Regions from separate parts of the Homo sapiens genome. Here region 2 is linked to region 1. The links are contacts of gene promoters, found by promoter capture Hi-C in blood cells and fetal thymus (Javierre and others, 2016). All regions are on one chromosome and are shown on one strand. Each heading gives the region's core, a stretch centred on a gene start or on the middle of the fragment in contact. The rest is flanking DNA. Distances are from core to core; before and after follow the strand shown.

Region 1 (2,700 bases), core at 30-2,529:
CGCCCCCGCCCCCGCCCCCGCCCCCGCCCCCACCCCCACCCCCACCCCCACCCCCAGCCGGCGCCCGCGCCCGCCCCCGCGCCGGGCCCGGCTCGGCCCGACCCGGCTCCGCCGCGGGCAGGCGGGGCCCAGCGCACTCGGAGCCCGAGCCCGAGCCGCAGCCGCCGCCTGGGGCGCTTGGGTCGGCCTCGAGGACACCGGAGAGGGGCGCCACGCCGCCGTGGCCGCAGGTCAGAGTACGGGTGCCCGCGGCGCTCGGGAACCGGCTGCTGGCTGGGCGGGGAGTGCTCAGGGAGGGGGCGCGGAGGGCTGGGGCCGAGGGTCTGGGGGCTAGGGCCGAGGAAACGGGAACTGACGGGGTCCCAGACGGATGAGAGCTGGGGAGAAGGGGGTCTCGGCTGAGGGGTCCGGGGCTGAGGCAGGGTCATGGTCCGGCAGGACCCGGACTGACGGGTCGCGGGCGGGCGGCTCACGGGTGACCGGGTGAAGGGGTCTTGGGCTGAGGGCACCCGGGCTGAGGGTCGCGTCTACCGGAGCGCGCACTAGGGGCGGAGGGCGCGGGCACAGAGAGCCGCGGCCGGTGCCGACTCGAGTGGACGCGAGCCGGTGCGTCCCGGCTTCCAGGACAGCCCCCCTCGGGAGAGCGCCGGGTGGGCGCGGAGCCGGGGACACGGGGACCTCCGCGTCCCCGGCGGAGGTGCGCAAGCGTCGGGAGCCGCTCCGGGGGAACTTTGGAGCAGGGTGTCTGGACCCGGGGAAGCGAAGATCCGCGTGCGTCCGTCCTGAGGCCGCGCGGCACCCCTGCTGAGGAGGAGGTCCCGTTCGCTGTCCAGAGCCCAGGGGCGACCGCCGCTTGGGGACCGGGGGACCGTTCAGCGAGGGGCGCGCTTGTAGCTGGCCAGGCCCTGTGCCCTGACGCGTTGTGCTGGCCCTACGCCCGGCGGAGGGGCTGGGGACGGGGACTGGGTGCCTCCGTGCCTCCGCGGATGGAGCGCGCAGCCAGGACCCCCAGCCGCACCCCGGGGGGCTGGAAAGGCGAAGTCGCTGCTTTGTGGGCTCCTGCAAGTGCCAGGCGCTGACCACTCCTCCTGGGAGCCTAACTGAGGGGGGTAGAGGCAGCAGAGGTTAACAGAAATCTCAGGTCCCTTGGTGGAAGGTGGGTGTGTAGTCGTGGTACTTTACGCCTCGGTGTTTAGGGAGGAGCCTAAGGTAAGGAGTCAGAAACGGGGAGTAACCGAGCTGCGGCTTTTATATAAGGTCAGTGGTAGGTAAGGAAGGGGCCTTAACCTCTGCTGGTGACCAGAAGCCTGCATTTCTGCATTCTGCTTAATTCCCTTTCCTTAGGTGAGTTGGCTCACTCTCATTGCATTTTGTTGGAATGTGTTGGTGATAGGTCCGAAATTTGCAAAATTATTGTATTATCCTTATATCATTTTTTTTTGCAGTGCTCTTGTTTTATAAGAAGAATCCAATTCACTTGGGTCATAGGCTAACGGTTGTAAAAATAGTGTCATTGTTATAAAAGAAATCAAGTCAAAAATAGTCGTCTGCCATGAAGAAACTAAAATTTTTCTTCTTTTCCTTGCAAGATTAGGGACAAAATGTAAAGTTTATTTGTGTAAATTATCATTTGGATATAAAACCAGACAATGATAAACTGAGTTGTATAATACCTATTCCTGGAAAACCTCTGATTTTGAAGTACATTATTTTAACCCCAACTGTTTCTGTCATTCGTGAGACAAATTGTTAACTGGATTTATTAAGAGAACAATGAATAACTTAACTCTTTAAAAGGACCTGGGCAAATCTTCGACAGGTTTCAGGTATTTTATGGCAGTCTTTCTGTCTATTGCTAAGTGATCGATTGCTGACTGAGAACAGAACCAACTGATGGTGCTAGATGATTTAGAAAACCTTTCTGGTATAGGGACTGGCATGGACATTCACTGTGGCTTTTCTCTTAAAGAAATACCTTTCACTCCTAGGGGAGTTTGACAGAAGACACTCATAGATGCTACCAGTTAGCATTTGGAGTAATATATCAAAACATTCTGTTCAAGTTTTAAAGTAAGTTTTGTGTAGTATATTTTCAATCAGATTCACTTTGGAATCAAATACACTTTATTTGATTCCAAATAAAGTGTATTTGAATATTCACTTTAATATACGAAACTTTAAAGGTAATGTCTCAGCCAAAAAGTGAAGTGTATTACAAAACTGTCCATTTTTGTCTTCTTGTGTACTTCACATAATTTTTCTCCCTGATTTAAATTATATGATATTTGATAGTTAACTTGCTAATAATTATGTCTTAAGAGATCTTTGAATCAACTGGTGGCCATCTCAGTCTTTTAAAACTCACTTGAAGGAAAAGAGAAACACTAATGATGGTTTTTTTTAAAATCAAAAACTTTTTTCATATTTACAAGTTTGTTTCTAGTTCTTAAACAATAACTGCTGTAAAACCATGGCATCAGTGAGGTATAAAGTTTTGTAGAATCCCAGGCTGAAGACTTTTTGGATGTCGTTTTCTCATTTCTTTACATTAAAAAGAATATAATTTCTTTTTAAAATTAAAACTAAAATGTCCACCGGCCTCATATTCTTTATTGAACTTAAGTGCTTTGAAAATATTTTTGCGATTGATATTTTTAATGATAAAATATAATATTTTCTTTGAAGGACTAGTTTCCTAAA
Region 2 (2,908 bases), core at 261-2,760, 130 kb before region 1:
CATACCGGAGCATTTTTTCAGTGTCAGCAGGGTCTGCACTGGCCGGAACTACCTTCTCACTGGAGATTTTGGCCCGAATCACTGCATAGGAAGAGAAAAGAGGGAACCTTCAGCAGCTGGTGGGGGCAATACACCTGAGGTCTGGATGATCCAGGGTCCATGAAGAAGTCTATAGGGCAGTTCTTGGTTTTGGTGTGGCTGGGTTGTGAGCAACGTGATGTGTGAGAAGGGGGACCTGGAAACACCTCCCCTGCAGTCACTGGAAGTTCCAAACCCCTCAGGCTTATTAGGTCCTATAACCGCTAAGCTGTTTCTGCCTTTTGAACCAGTTAGTCTGGAGAGCTCTAGTTCTCCATAGCCGTTTGTGCAGTGGGGCACAGGGTAGGAGTCAGAGTAGAGAAGGGAGGAGGAGCCCCTTCAGGGCAGTCGGTGTGAAGTTTATCTATTGCTGTGGTCAAGGCCTCTCATCCCGCCTACAGTTGATATTAGTAAATGTTTATTGAATTCATAAATGTTCTGACCCTGCACTGAGGTATTGCATCTCTTGCCATTTGAGCATTAATAACCAAAAACTGTTGATGATGTTCTTCCTCTGTGCCTGGCCTTGCACTAGGCACTAGGCCCATAGATGTGATTAAGACAGGGTCCCCATCCTGCCGAGCTCTTGATCTAGTGGAGTGCACACGTGTAAAGAACAACAGCACAGCATAGTAGGAGCGCTAAGACGGTTAGAGATGCTGAGGCGGCACCAAGGAGCCCGGGAGCCTGCAGAGAAGGGGAGAGACCTAAGTTAGCCCTTGAAGGATGAGTAGGAGTCTGCCAGGAATTTAAGGGTGTGAGGGAGGGCATTCCAGGCAGAGGGAAGAGAAAGGACAGAACGTGTGTGTTGCCATAGGGGCTTGGTGGCAACCTCAGTTATAGGCCTGGACAGACACGGGTAGTTACAATGCAAGCCCTCTCCCCTCCCCTTTCTGTCCCCAGTCTAGTAGTTCAGAATAATCATCAGATAGCTCCGGTGACACCTTGTGTAATGACACTCCATAATTGCAGTATGGCCGGAGTGAGGGAGGTCGCTATGGAAGTCCCTGATGAAATCTTCATTTCCTTATGAATCAGTCAGGTTCTGGGCTTGCAAGGTTGCTATGGCGCCTGGTCCTTCTCCACCCATCAGCCTCAGCAAGAGACAACCGGTAAGAATTTGAGCTCCTCCCTTTTCCTCTGGACTCCTGGTGTACTGCTGGCCAGATACTAATCCCCCACAACCACCCCCTGCTGTGGACCTCGCGGACCTCGGACTCACCAAGTGCCGAGTGGCAGATGTGCTGCTGAGGGTGCGCCGGGGCGCAGCTGCATGCCTCACCCAGCCCCGGGGGCCGCAGCAACGCCAGCAGCCGCAGCAACAGCACCCAGCTTGGCGCGGGCCGAGGGCTCCCAGGCATGACACTGCAGATCCGCGACTGAGCCTGTGAGGTCTGGGGGACTGGACGGCCCCAGCAGGGCTCCTTCCCAAGGCCGTTGTGCCCCTCGCCCCAGGCTTTATGAGGTGGCCCTAAGGGCCAATCCCGCCCCGACGGGCTCCGCCTTCCTTTGGCTCTAGGCCACCCGCGGAGGCAGGACCCGAGGCTCTTCCGACCTGCATACTCAGTAAGATGCAGAGGGAAGCCTGGAAGGAGGCCCTGACCTCTGTTTCCCTGCCTAAGTCATGAAGCGATCTGGAAGCAGAGGGGAAGCACTGGGAGAGGGGATGGTGTCAAGGGCAGAAAGACGGAAAGAGCCACAAAGACAAATGCATGAGGACAGAAAAACTGAGGGCTGTGATTCAGGCAGAAAGAACAAGAGTGAGGAGAGGCACAGACAGAAAGAGTGAGACAGGCAGAGTCCCAGAGAGGCAGACAGAATTACAACAGGCAAAAGAGACAGTGACAGAGAAGGACGGACCCCTTGCTGAGCTGCACGCTGGGAATGAGACGAGCTACTCAGGGCTTCTTTCAGCTGCAGGAAGTGCTTTCAATGCCCTATTTATGAGGCTCCAAAGCAACAGCAAACAGTAATAGAACAGGACAGAGAAAGTTGGGGTGTGTGTGTCTTGGCTCTGTTGCCTGGGGGGTGGGGAGAGATGTCAAAGAAGCAGCCAGTGCTTTAGAAACCCTTTCTCACTCCCAGAGCCTCAGACTCTCCAGATAGCTGGAGACAGCGCTCTTGGTGTACAAAACACAAAGTGTCCCATCACTTAGGGCAAACCTTGGACCTCAAAGCCCTCTCGAGGCCCTAGACTACATTGATTTTTATTGCATGTCCCTTCTCACTGGAGACTCTGTCATGTTCTAGAAGGTGGGACAGCTTAGAAAACAAAGAAGCAGGCTGGGCGTGGTGGCTCACGCCTGTAATCTCAGCACTTTGGGAAGCCAAGGCGGGTTGATCACCTGAGGTCAGGAGTTCGAGATCACCCTAGCCATCATGATGAAACTCCGTCCCTACTAAAAATACAAAAGTTAGCCGGGCGTGGTGGCCTACACCTGTAGTCCCAGGTACTCAGGAGGCTGAGGCAAGAGAATGGCTTGAACCCAGGAGGCGGAGGTTGAAGTGAGCTGAGACTGTGCCACTGCACTCCAGTCTGGGCGACAGAGTGAGACTCCGTCTCAAAAAAAAAAAAAAAAAAAAAAAAGTAAAAGAAAAAACAAAGAAGCAGGGGACTTGGGGGTGACTGTGACCAGAGCCTTGTCTGCTGTTTGGGCACAGTGTTGCAAGCCTCCAAATCCCAAATCTCCATGGGATTATTGCTGTGGGATGTTTCCACATGGTGCTGGACTGGATAGTGGGAGGCTGGGTTCCAATTCTGACTGTCACTGTAGCTTTGTGACTTTTGCCTCTCTGGGCCTCAGTTTTTTCTTCATAAAGTAGAGTTGAA

The links. The method cuts DNA at HindIII sites, captures the fragments that hold promoters and counts their contacts. A CHiCAGO score of 5 or more calls a contact.
Region 2: a contact is called between the fragment with the promoter of TIMP4 here and the fragment with the promoter of PPARG in region 1, in 2 of 17 cell types (M2 macrophages and monocytes). The highest score is 6.7, in M2 macrophages.

What each region holds. Positions count from the first base shown.
Region 1 is chr3:12,287,791-12,290,490 of GRCh38, forward strand. PPARG (peroxisome proliferator activated receptor gamma) reads left to right here and starts at 1,280. Exons shown (of 8, transcript NM_138711.6): 1 at 1,280-1,344. The HindIII fragment of the contact is 6,976 bases long and covers 1-2,700 here.
Region 2 is chr3:12,157,402-12,160,309 of GRCh38, forward strand. TIMP4 (TIMP metallopeptidase inhibitor 4) reads right to left here and starts at 1,511. Exons shown (of 5, transcript NM_003256.4): 1 at 1,301-1,511; 2 at 1-81. The coding sequence starts at 1,439. The region is part of intron 5 of SYN2 (synapsin II); the gene reads left to right. The HindIII fragment of the contact is 8,121 bases long and covers 1-2,908 here.